Linked DNA regions of Homo sapiens: all the other regions are linked to region 2. The links are contacts of gene promoters, found by promoter capture Hi-C in blood cells and fetal thymus (Javierre and others, 2016). All regions are on one chromosome and are shown on one strand. The core of a region is centred on a gene start or on the middle of the fragment in contact, and the rest is flanking DNA. Distances in the headings are between cores, read along the strand shown.

What was found. Contacts are between HindIII fragments. The CHiCAGO score rates a contact against its expected background, and 5 or more counts as called.
Region 1: a fragment that was not itself captured here is called in contact with the fragment with the promoter of NETO1 in region 2 in 2 of 17 cell types (total B cells and naive B cells); the score reaches 7.0 in total B cells.
Region 3: a contact is called between a fragment that was not itself captured here and the fragment with the promoter of NETO1 in region 2, in 1 of 17 cell types (total B cells). The highest score is 5.2, in total B cells.

Annotation. Positions count from the first base shown.
Region 1 is chr18:73,077,073-73,081,665 of GRCh38, forward strand. No RefSeq gene overlaps it. Among named protein-coding and RNA genes, the nearest start is that of LINC02864, 190 kb to the right of the region's middle. The HindIII fragment of the contact is 1,683 bases long and covers 1,033-2,715 here.
Region 2 is chr18:72,866,737-72,870,973 of GRCh38, forward strand. It overlaps NETO1 (neuropilin and tolloid like 1), which reads right to left and starts at 1,251. Exons shown (of 11, transcript NM_138966.5): 1 at 528-1,251. The coding sequence starts at 555. NETO1-DT (NETO1 divergent transcript) reads left to right here and starts at 1,652. Exons shown (of 2, transcript NR_134648.1): 1 at 1,652-1,726. The HindIII fragment of the contact is 9,933 bases long and covers 1-3,206 here.
Region 3 is chr18:73,102,767-73,107,275 of GRCh38, forward strand. No RefSeq gene overlaps it. Among named protein-coding and RNA genes, the nearest start is that of LINC02864, 160 kb to the right of the region's middle. The HindIII fragment of the contact is 748 bases long and covers 1,934-2,681 here.

The DNA.
Region 1 (4,593 bases), core at 624-3,123, 210 kb after region 2:
GACAGGAAGGTGCCCATCTACCAGCCTCCATTTTGCTTCCTCCATTATTTGTCTTCTCCTGGAACACTGCTATCAGTATGTAAAACATGCTCCACCTTCTACTGCATTAAAGTACCCTTGACCCCACATCTCTTTTCACAATCAACCTATTTCCCTTTTCCCCTTACAGAACAATTTGTCCACACACAGATGATGTCCACTTCTTTTTTTTTAAATTCTCTCTTCATTCATCTCTGATCCAGTTGCTGAACTTTGCATTTTACAAAACCCTGTCATCAAGTTCCATTATCTCCCTGCCACTCATATCACTGCGTTTTGTTAGTTGTCTTGTTTCTCAGTCTCTCAGTACCATCTCTTACTTGAAAAGATCTTGCCTTCTGAAAGATTACATTTTGCTGTATTTCCTTTCCTTTTGAATTTCCTCCTGTATACTCCTTTTAGTCTCTTAGAAGACTGTTATCAAACCAATCTTACCAAACTCTAAATAATAGAGTCTCCAAAATTTTATTCTGAGATTTCTGCTCTTTTCTATACACATTTTTATTTAAGCAATAGTATTGCCATGCGTGGCTTTAAAGACTATGCGACGATGTGTTAACATTACCAAAATACCTGCTTGGCATTTCCAGTGCAGTGTTTAAAAGGAATCTTACCTTTAATGTATCCAAAACATAAAATTCTCTCAGTTCCACCCCTCCTAATCCCTACACACCTGACTTTTCTTGGCACCTTCATTTGAATAAGCGGTGGCCTCATTTTGCTCAACTCCTAAACCTATGAATCTAGATTCTTCCCTACATCTCTCATACCCAATTGAGTAACAAATTTTATTCCCTTTCTCTCCATCTTCAATACCACTAACTGTAGGTAAAACTACCATAACCTTTCTCACTGAGGTATGGACCTCAGTTTTGCAAGGGTCTCTCTTTGCTTTCCTTCCTGCCCATTAAAAACCATTCCTTGTATGACACCAAGTACACTTTGCATTGCAATTTTTTGTGTGTGTGCTTTCCTTTACACAAATGGAACCTAAGCTTCTCAGAGGATGCAAATCCCTACTTTGGTGTCACAATTTCATGCTCCCTTCTTTGTTCCGTGTGCTCTGGATAATTTTTCATTCTTAAAAATAGAAGAAAAAAGAAAAGGAATATACAAAAAGCATATTTATTCCTCTAAAATTAACACACAAAAACATATTTCTTCTTCTAAGATTTTGCAGTTACTATTCTTGGCCTTCCTTTTCCTAAAATCTTCTCATGACCCACTCTTCTAAGTATCTTATGTCCCAGCTCAAATTGTAGCCCTGGATGATGTATAATCTTCTTCCTCAAGTACAAATGCATGTTCTCTTTGTCTGACAAGCTATAATCTAAAAGAACAATAATTCTCACCTCTGAACCGACAATGGCAGAAAACTGGGATCTGCAAATACGATGGACTGCTAGAAGGTGGAACATGGAAAACACACATCACTCCCTTCTCCACGGCTGCTGGCATCTCACTGGACTGATATAGGGAAGACTCCTTGCTGGCATGGCAGGGAGTCTCTGTGCTTTGTCCTAACTGTGCCATTTAGCAAAACTCCCTTGTGGTTTCTGCCTGTGGCTCTGGCTGTCCATTTCAGGGGATCCTTCCTTGCCTTCACTTTCCTTGGCCACAGCACACAAGGGAACTTCAGAGGATACAGCCTTTGAACCCGTCCTCTTGGTGAGAGTTTAGGGACATGGGGATTATTTTAGGGGATTAAGAGTCATGGACAGTTGCAAACCAGGTTTAGGGGTGCTTTGGCAGTACTTAACCCTGCAAGAGTCTAGCAAGCTGTGGGTCTGATTGGTTTCAAGTATCAAATGTTATTCAGCTCATCATAACAAAACATCATATCTAGATCTAATCACATAGGTGTCTTTCATTTAGCTTCCGTGCTCTGTGGTATCACCCTCTTTCAAATTTAGGCTAGTTCCTAGTGGGTAATTGAAACAATGGGTTTAGATGAATAGGCAACACCCTTAATCTCAGTGTTGCCAGCAGGCAAACTTTCATCTCCTGCTATGGCTGCCACTTCATAGCCTGCTTCAGTGCGGGGCATAAAACAGTTGGCGCTTTACACTTTATAAGGTTCCAAGTTATGTGACTATAAGCAAACCTACATTGTAACACGTTATATTGCTTTGAAAGCCAAGTTTTGTAAGAGTAGACATTTTTCTTGTTTGTTAATTGATTTATACCAGCTGTTTAGAATAATGCCTGTATAGAGGAAGTGCAGAGTACACGTATGTTGAGTAAATGAATGAGTAAGCAAATGTATAATCCATGTAATTTATTAAAAATGCCACATATTTTTATGGATGCATTAATATGTAGTAATATTACAATATATATGCTGGGATGACAAGTAGCAGCTTTACAAGTGGCTAACCACTACGGAAGATGGAGAAAAAAAATTTGGGGAGATGGAGTTTTAGTTATGTCTATAGCTGTTTATAATTCATTGAAAAATTCATTTTTCACAGCTAATATTTCAATTCATTGAAAATAATGTTTAAAGCAAATATGGAAAATGTGAAAATATTAATATTTATTATGTGTAGATACCAGGTAACTTCACATATCTTTTCCTTTTTCTTTTTTGAGACAGTCCCATTTTAATCTTTTCATAAACAGTATTATTAAGGGTTAAATGACATAACTGTATTTATTTAAAAATGCAGTTTGATAAGCTTTTACATAGGAATACACTTGTTTCCATCATTGCCACAACAAGGATAATGAAGATTTACATTCACTCAAAAGCTTCCTGCGTTCTTTATTCCCCCTTTTTCACATATTTTGTATCAGGTTAAAATAGTTTATTATTTAAAATGTTAAATTAATTTAAAACAACAAAAACAGATTCCATAAATATGTGAAATTAAAGTGCTAGAAACCTACCTCTGCCCCCACTGAATATTTGTAAGTGGAGCTGCTCCAGTTTTATGAAGACCTCGGGTATTATTGAGGCCTCAATACCACATGGAAGTTGCAAAACTATTGTATAATGTTCTTCACTTCCTTTTTATCTATTGCTGCCTGTCTCTCTTTGGGTCATCGCCTTGTCCCTACATATGGAAGATAGCTTGAGAATCATTGCAGACTGAACTTTGCACCCAAGACTACTCTTCCTATTTGGACCCTGACTTGGTTTTCTGGAGTTAACCTTCAAAAAATTCCCATATGTTTTTACTCTTTGAGGTGTTTTAGACATGTATAGTTTCTGTATTTGACACTATGCTCAGTTTTCCCAAAATACACAACCTGAGACGAAAACTTGTAGGCAGGTATGTTATCAGGAGATGGGGAAACATGGAGTCTGGAAGGAGAGACAGTCCAGCCCAGCATACTTTGTTGAACAGCAGGCAATGGGCTCCGTGTTGCTGGGCACCTTAGGCATCAGCCCAGTGGTGTGAAATTCTCCACTCCTGCTATGAGGCTGAAGATGCTCCCCCAGACATCTCATCAATGCACAGTGGAAGCCAAGGAGATCCAGGGTGGAACCAAGAGATACACAGTGTAGGTAAGACCAGGGTCTCTAGGCCTGCAAAGGTGATTATGGCAGCACTGGCCACAGGGAAGGTGACTGCGGAGATAAACATAGTCCAGCATGGATATTCTGCTCCTTTGAGAATGTGATTATATTTTGTTTATTTCATAAACAAACATGGATTGGACACCTAGTAAATAATGATATAATTTTTTATCACCCTCTAGGGACTGGCATGTTATTTTGCCCATTATAGGCAACCGATGTTTATATTATTCTAGTTAACATCATTTCTTATTACATGAATAGCATGTCTAGATAATTTAATCTTTCTAGTGTTTATCAAAATATTAGATGATTGAGTTCAATTAAATTGTAATAATCACTTACCATCAAAAAGGAAGCATATTAGCAATAAGTAAATAGATAAATAAATTGATTATTTGAGAGACCAAAGTAATTACAACCATAAAAATACTAGTAAGAGCAAACACCAATATGAAAATTTGTGCCAAGCACTATCCTAAGATCTTATATCAGTTAAGTCACTTTATACTAATGATAATATTTAAGTTGTCTTAATGTCGCTGTTTTCAAGACGAGCAAACTGAAGTGCAGACTGTTTTGTAACTAGCATCTTATGAAAAAATAAAATGGAGTAATTTATAAGCCTTTACACCATTTTTTCTTTTCTTTTTCTTTAGAGAACAGCAGATACTGGTGCTTAAAAAGTGGACACAGGCTGGATTCATATCCTGACCTTGCCCTAGCTAGGATTCATATCCTGACTAGCTCTGCAATTTTGAATACGTTGTTATTAATTTCTTTAAAAATAGTGTTAAAATTACATGTGAATATAAATAACATATTTTATAATAAAATAGCTACATTGCCCCAAACAAATAATTTGCAAGAAAACTGACATTGTTTTATACGTTTTGCAAATATGCTTAATGTCGGACTTACTTGACGAAAGACAGCTGGAATCATATGAGCTCCTGCTCCTGCCCTGCTTGGAGATGATACATCACTGGTCTGTAGAAAATAATGCCAGTAAACAAATGTGAGAGAACGCC
Region 2 (4,237 bases), core at 1-2,500:
ACCACACACCCATAAAGCGACATCAGCGGTCTCCAGGGCGGAAAGGGGTGGAAGCTGACCCTCGCCCTTCCCTCCAGCGCTGGCTTCAGGTGTGCCTTCTGCTACCTCCTGTACTGCGAACAGGGGCCCGCCGAGCTCCGGGAGCCCCTAGAAGAGGAAGACTCCTCTGGCCCCACTAGGTATCATCCGCGCTCTCCCGCTTTCCACCTGCGCCCTCGCTTGGGCCAATCTCTGCCGCACGTGTCCATCCCTGAACTGCACGCTATCCTCCACCCCCGGGGGGTTCCTGCGCACTGAAAGACCGTTCTCCGGCAGGTTTTGGGATCCGGCGACGGCTGACCGCGCGCCGCCCCCACGCCCGGTTCCACGATGCTGCAATACAGAAAGTTTACGTCGGCCCCGACCCGCGCGGGACTGCAGGGTCCGCCGGAGCGCGGCGCAGAGGCTTTTCCTGCGCGTTCGGCCCCGGGAAAGGGGCGGGAGGGCTGGCTCCGGGAGCGCACGGGCGCGGCGGGGAGGGTACTCACTGTGAAGCACGCTGCGCCCATGGATCATGTCTGTGCGTTACACCAGAGGCTCCGGGCTCCACTAATTCCATTTAGAGACGGGAAGACTTCCAGTGGCGGGGGGAGGACAGGGTCGAGAGGTGTTAAAGACGCAAAGCAAGAAGGAAATAAAGGGGGGCCGAGAGGGAGACCGAGAGGAAGGGGGAGCTCCGAGCCCACGCTGCAGCCAGATCCGGATGAGTCCGTCCTCCGCCCCGGGCGGGCTCTCGCTCTCGCTGGCCCTCAGCGCCGCGCAGCCAGCAGCATCCCCACCGTGACGCTCGCATCACACCCGGGCGCCGGCCGCCACCATCCGCGCCGCCGCCGTCAGGACCCTCCTCCCGGGCATCGTCGCCGCCGCGGGGTCGGGAGGACGCGGCGCGCGGGAGGCGGCGGTCGCAGGGCGAGCCCCGGGACGCCCCGAGCCGGGGCCGGGGCCGGGGAGAGGGCGCAGCGAGGTGGGGGCCAGTCCAGACCGACGGCAGCGACGGAGCGGGCGGCGGCGGCGGCGCCGGCGGCGGCGGGGTGGCTCAGTCCCCAGTCTCAGACGCGCCGCGCAGCAGGTCGGAGCAGCCTCCCCGGGAGGATGTCCAGCGGCAGCGCTCCTCGCTCCAGCCCTTGGGGATCTTCCGCTGAGGCATTGAAGGCAGGAAGAAGGGGTCCGTCATCGGCTCGCCGGGCTGCGCGCCACCTCTGCTATCTTGCGGAAAGAGGAGCGGGTGGGTGGGCGTCTGGGAGGCGGGCTGGAGGGCGGTGCAGGGGAGCGGGGCGGCCGGGGGGGGGGCCGGGGGGCGGGGAAGGGAGGGAGGAGAAAGGAGCCGGAAGAGGGCAGAGTTACCAAATGGGCTCCTTAGTCATGGCTTGGGGCTCCACGACCCTCCTGGAAGCCCGGAGCCTGGGTGGGATAGCGAGGCTGCGCGCGGCCGGCGCCCCGGGGCTGGTGCGCGGCAGAATGGGGCCGCGGCGGCGGCAGCAAGGACATCCCAGCCGCGCGGATCTGGGGGAGGGGCGGGGAGGGGGTGAGGACCCGGCTGGGATCCGCGGCTCGGCCCGCCAGGGCGCAGAGAGAGGATGCAGCCGCAAATCCCGAGCCGGATCCTCGTGCCGGACGGAAGGCGTGGAAGCGGGAGGGGCCTTCGTGTGAAAATCCCTTGTGGGGTTTGGTGTTTCACTTTTTAAAGGTTAGACCTTGCGGGCTCTCTGCCTCCCACCCCTTCTTTTCCATCCGCGTAAAGGAACTGGGCGCCCCCTCTCCCTCCCTCCCTGGGGCGCAGGTTTCGCCGCGGACTCCGCGCTCAGCTTGGGAGACACGGCAGGGGCGCGCCCCAGGGAAAGGCGGCCGTAAAAGTTTCGCGGTTGAGCACTGGGCCTGATGTCCAGTCCCCCCACCAAATTACTCCTGCAAAGACGCGGGCTTCTTGCAATTGAGCCCCCCACCTCGAGGTATTTAAAACCACCCCAAGGCACACACGGACCCCCGTTCCCCCGCGCCACTTCCTCCTACAGGCTCGCGCGGCGCGTTAAAGTCTGGGAGACACGAGTTGCGGGGAAACAGCACCGGAAGAGCCCGGGCTTGTAAAATGCGAATCAATGAATACGAAATAAGGGCAACCGCGAGGCAGCGCCGGGAAGGGCTGGAGCGCGCGGGGGTGCAGGGAGTCCCTCCCTGGGCGCCGCAACGGCACCTCCTCCCTTTCCCGGCTCCGTCCCGCCCTCCCTCGGCCTCTGCGGACGCGACCCACGCAGACCACAGCCGAGCCCGCCGGACCCCGGGACTACGGAAGCCATCCCGTCCGGCCACCCACACCCGCGCCGCGGCTGGGGCTTGGGTTGGGGACTGTGGCGGCGAAGAAGCCGGGGTAGGAAGAGCTAATGGCAATGGCGGGGTCGCCGGGGGGCGGGGGGTCAGCAGCAGACGCTGAGCTGTGAAGACTAGGGTGGCCCCGAAAGGCCGAGGAAAGGAGAAAGGGCCATGAGAAGAGTCTGGCGAGCGCTCGAGGCCGGGGGGCTGCCTCCCGGCTCTGGCCCGGCCTCCGCTTCCCGGCACCTGCTGCTGGGGCGCCCACGTGCGCGCGGGGCTGCGCGGGGCGTTGGGTGCTCGTCGCAGTCCTGCCCACGCCTAGCGCAGCGGCTGTGAGTGGGTGGAGGTCTCCTGCCAGTAAGTTGGGATGAGGGACGATGAGGTGACCCCCAAGTCTGGAAGGGATTCAGAGTCTCACACGCGCCCCCAAGCCTCCTACCACCACACCAAAGTGCTGGTTCCTCGATTTCCAGGGTGGGGTAAAGTGACCGAGCAAAGGGGATGGTGTGTTTGTGTGTGCGCGCGCATATACGCGCGCGCGTGTTGTGCATCCGTGTAATGAAAGTTGGGTCATGGGTCAACCCGGGAGTAGAGCGAGATGGAGACCTAAAGAGAGAAAGCTGAGAGAAGGGGGAAGACATGGACAGGGTAAGAGAGAGAGAAAGGAGAGAGAGAAGAAAGGGAAAAGAGGAGCGGGGAGAGAAAAGAGAGGCAGGAGAGAGAATGAGGGGACAGAAGAGAGTAGGGAGACGAGAAGGCGGAGGACAGAAGAAATGGGGGAGAGGGAAGAGGACAGAGAGGCTGCGCGCCTCTGAATACGCCAAGTCCAGCAGAGCTGGAGGCCTGTGAGAGGAGCTGCAAGCTTGAGCAAAGGGAGAGAGGTGAGCGGATGAAGGGAGATTGGTGAGTATCCGCCCACGCACCTACTTGTAAAAAGATCAAGGGGAAACACGCAGAAGGTCCCGCGGGAGTCCTGTGACCCACGTGAGGTGCTCGTGCCAGCGCGGGGTGGGAGGTGGTGGGCAATGTTCGTCGTGGAGTTGAGGAAGAAATTCTCCAGCCTTAAGGAAGCAAAAGAGTTCAAAGATCAGTGAGGCTGCTCAACAGAGGGATATGCAGATGACAGAATGCTTGGAAAACGCTTTTGGGGATCCGGGTCATCTATAGAGGAGAGGGTGGAGGTCTTGCAAAAGGACCAGTCGCAAGAGTTGACAGTTGAATGTTGGAATCTTTCTTATGGTTGGATGGCACTTTCTTTACATCCAAAATATGCGTTATTCGTGAAGATGACACAGTTCTACAAAGAAAGTGGCAACATTTAAAATTATTTGTAGAAAGTTACTGCATTTCTCAATCACAGTTTGAAGGCAGAGAAAACTTGGTTTTACCATAAATGCTCTCATTCACCTGCCCTCTTCTGTCCTCTTTGCCCAGAACAGTTTCCCAGGACACTGGGATTTTGTAACCTGCCAAGGAAGGGGCTACGTTGCTAAACAAGTAGTCCTTTTATGGGACACAGGAAATTAGGAAGGAACTCATAAGGAAGGTGAAAGGGTCCTAACCTTTTGTCCACGCCTGTATTTGAAATCAAATATCTTGCATAAACAGTGGTCTCCATTTTTTTTCTTTTTTTAATGAATTAAAGGCTGGAGCGCAGTGACTGGATCACAGCTTGCTGCAGCCCCAACTTCCTGGGCTCAACTGAGCTTCCCACCTCAGCCTCTGGAGTAACTGGGACTACAGGCACAGGCCATCATGCCTGGCTAATTCTTTTATTTTTTATATTTTTTAGAGAGGGGGTCTAGCCATGTTACCCATGCTGTTCTCAGACTCCTGGCCAAAAGTGATCCTGTGGCCTCCCGCTGATCTTTAATGCCCAGTGCTTTCTCGG
Region 3 (4,509 bases), core at 1,058-3,557, 240 kb after region 2:
ACTGAGGGCAGGATATGCTGTATAGCGTATTCTATATGGCTTATATTTTGGGCTTCCATGAAACAAAGTCACCACTCAAAAGAACTTTAAATTAGCATACTCAGGAAATCAAGAGCTCCCAATGTAATTAGCATACAGCTGCTAATTATCAAGTGAAATGCTGCATTGAGGAGGGAAGGGAGTTTACTGTTGATTTGGGTGTTAACATGAACAGATAATTTCAAACCACTTTACTTTAGCATTGTCATTATTGAACATACGTTTCTAATTCCACAGGATGCAAAATTTCATTTGAAAGATATACAAGGCAACTATTTCTTAAAATGTACCTTAATATTGTTCAATGAGTTCATTCGAATTTTGGATTGTGTTATATACCCTTGTAGACAGCAATAAGTATAGAGTTTTGTCTCATAAAAATTAACCATAACAATATTGTTAAGATGCTTTGTAAGTTACAAAATGCTTTATTATGCGTAGCACATATACATAAATATTCTCAATAAGGTCTTTGCAATATAACCAGCTTTTCCAGATATGCGAACTAAGAGTTGCATCTATTTTATTTTTTCCAATTTATTACTTTAACGTGTATCACCTTTATTTTTGGAGCTGGATCATTTCACTTCTCAGTGCTCCCGCGTGGCTCTTCCAAATGCACCCATTGTCCAACAATTCCTGCAGTTTATTCTGTTAAAGGGGAAATAGACCTATTTCCAAAGGATGTTTTTAGAGAAAAGTTAAAAGTTTGATCAGTTGAGGGCTGCCTTTGCTCTATTCTGCCCCTCCATTTGCTATTGACAAGCAGTCTTCCATAGTGAGACAGACAATTTTGCACTCTGCAGCTATGCTTTTGATTGGGCATATTCTAGTGCAGAATTCAGAGGCGCCCCACCCTTGATCCCTAGCTTTCCGTTGTGCTTGTTCACATTCACAAGTCAGCCCCTGTTCACAAAAGCTTGGATCTCTAGGCGCTGTGGATAGCATGTGAAAAATCTGGAAAGAAAAATAATTATCCATTTTAGGCATGTCTGAATTATAAAGTTTAAGAAAGTATGTAGCAATAGATGAGTCTAAAAGAGTTATGCAGTTGTCACGTCAGGAAGTATCTTTTAAAGCCATACATAAAACTTTATACACTATTCCGTGAGAAATGGGGAAATTTGAAATGTTTTAAATAGTGCATCAACACTTTCAATTTTGGTTAATAAAGTGAACAAAAACTGCTGGGTGGAAAAAAGATTGAAAAGAGACTAAAGTATAATTTCCAGACAGGAAACTATTGCAGTAATTCATGTGAGAGATAATGATGGAGAAAGGGATATGTTTGAGCAAATGGGTAGCGCAGTTTACTGAAGCAAGGAGCACAAAAGACAAGTCAGGTATTTTTCTCAGTAAAGTGAATGTGAAGAGCCATTTTCTTGAGTCATGGACGGGAAAGTAACAAATCTCATATTCATGCAGAGTTATGAATCATGAGACTTCTAATGTAACACTTTTAAAAAAAAAACCTTCTTCGCAAGGGTAATTTGCAGTGCTTCTGAATAATTACATACAACATGTCAAGGGTTCTAATTACATATTTGGTCCTCGCAACAAGTCAATAATCTGCATTGCACATTTTATTCTGCAGGTTTTACAAATATCTTTACTTTTCCCTTGGGAAAACTGTATCTGAGGCAGGTTATTTTCCAGGCCCAAGACCACGCCTCCAAAAAACACAAAAATTTCAAACCTTGAATGCAAAATCAAGTTCTCAGATATAAAATTATGTGCTTTTCAGTCTCCAATATTGCATTGCCTCTCAAAAGCAACTGTTAAAGACTACCCAACTATTACATATTGTCTGATTCATTCAAACAGTTAAATGTTACTATTTAAAAACCATTTCTCACTGACATTAATCCAATATTTTAGTATCTTTCATTCCAAAAGCTTATATCCATTTTAATCTTTATACGAAAATATTAACTTTATCAATATTCAACAAAAATGTCTTAATTAGTACATTGTTTATATTAGCTATTACTGTTGTTCTCAGTAGAACAGAGGAGAAAAGATACATCTCAAAATGTTTCAAAAAATAGAGAAAATAATTACAAATTGTAGGACTCAGGGATAGAGTAGATAAAATTGAGAGAGAACATACAAAAGTAAATATGAATTTGATATTTCAAAATAAATAAACAAGAGATGCCATTGACAAACACAAAAACTTAGAGGAGGGATTGGTTTGACAAGTGATGCATTTGATTTTATATGTGTAGAAATATTTGAAATCTGAAGTCACAGAGTAACATTAAATGGAAAGATGAGAAGAATTAAAAATATTCGCGTGAACTACACAAAGAGGAAAAAAAGTTTTTATTGAATGAGTCAACACGAGGTATTGTGCTAATTACTCCATTTTGTTTTATCCAATTATTTACACAAAAACCCTAGGGATAGTTAGTTCTACCCCATTTTCAAAAATAATAATAATGATGGTGATAATAGAAGCAGCATTAATTACATATATAATATTCTAAGCATTGATACTGATTAATTAATAACCCAAAGAGTCTTCAGAAACAGATTTGTTTTACCCATTTTACAGATGAGGAAACTGAGGCACAGAAATTTTAGTTCTTGCCCAAGATAACCCTATTACTGAAAGTCATAAGACTCAAATCCAGTTATAAAGCTTCAATGGGTTTAACTACCTTTAAAAATAAAAATTAAATATTTTTAAAATTCTTTGTTTTTTGAGCAGTTTTAAGTTCATAGCAAAATTAAGAGAATGGTACAAACATTTCCCACATGCCCTTCGCCCCAACACATGTGGAGCCTCCTCCATTATCAACATCCCCTACCACAGTGGTGCATTTGCTACAGTTGATGAACCTACATTGACACATCATAATCACCATAGTCTCTAGATCACATAAGGATTCAATCTGTGTACATCCATGGGTTTAAACAAATGTATAACGACTTATACCCATCATTGTGTTAAATGCAGTATTTTTACTGTCCTAAAAATCCTCTGCCCTCTGTCTATTCAGCCCTCTCTCTGTGACTCCCTAGCAACCACAGTTATTTTTTTTTTTTTGTATCTACACCTCTGTCTTTTCCAGAATGCCATATAGTTGGAATTATACATTATGTAGTCTTCTCAGAATGGCTTCTTTCACTTAGTAATATGCATGTAAAGTCCCTCCATATCTTTTTATTACTTGATATTTCATTTCTTTTTAGTGCTGAATAATATTTCATTTCCTGAATGCACCACAGATTATCCATTTAACCGCTCAAGGACATATCGGTTGCTTCCCAGTTTTGGAAATCATGAATAGATCTGCCATAAACATCTGTGTATACACTTTCGTTTGGACATAAGCTTTTAAATCAAGTGAGTAAATATCAAGAACTGAGATTTCTGAACTGTATGGCCAAAGCATGCTTAGTTTTTTAAGAAACTGCCACATAGTACCAAAGGGACTGTACCACTATGTGTCTCCGCCAACAATAAATGCAGTTTATGTTGTTACACACTCTCATCAGCATTTGGTTCTAAATTTTGGCAATTCTGATAGATGTGTAATGGTATCTCAATGTTGTTTTAATTTGCATTTCCCTAGTGACATAAGATGTGGTACATCTTTTCCTATCCTTATTTTCCATGTGTATATTTTCTTTGGTGAGATATCTGTTGAATAGTTTGGCCAATTTTTTTTTTTTTAAATGAGACAGAGTATCACTCTTGTTGCCCAGGCTGGAGTGCAATCAGGTGATCTCAGCTCACCGCAACCTCCGCCTCCCGAGTTCAAGTGATTCTCCTGCCTCAGCCTCCCGAGTATCTGGGATTATAGGCATGTGCCACCACGCCAGGCTAATTTTGTATTTTTAGTAGAGACGGGGATTCTCCATGTTGGTCAGTCAGTTTGACCCATTTTTAAATCATGTTGTTCATTTTATTATAAACAAGTTTTAAGAGCTTTTGGAGACATGGATAGCAATACTTCAAATGATCTTATGAAAATATTTTCTCCAAGTAGGTAGTTTTTTTTTTATTTCTGTTGACATTGCCTTTCACAAAGCAAACATTTTTAATTTTGATGAAGTCTAGCTTATCATGTTACCTTGATAACCAATACCTTTTGGTATTGTATCTAAAATGACATCAGTATACCCAAAGTCAGTTAGAATTTTTTCTGTTGTTATCTTGTAGAAGTTACATAGTTTTGTGTTTTACACATAGGACTAAGATCCATTTTGAATTAATTTTTTGAATGGTCTCTATCTAGATTTATTTTATTTCCTTGTGGATATTTAGTTGTTCCAGCACCAGTTGTTGAAAAGATTGTCTTTGCTCCATTAAGTTTCCTTTGCTTTCTTGTCAAAGATGAGTGGACTATATTCACGTGGTTCTATTTCTGGGCTCTCTACTCTGTTCCATTGACTTACTTGCCTATTCTTTCACCAATAGCACACAATCTTGATTAGTGCAGTTTTATAGTAGATCTTGAA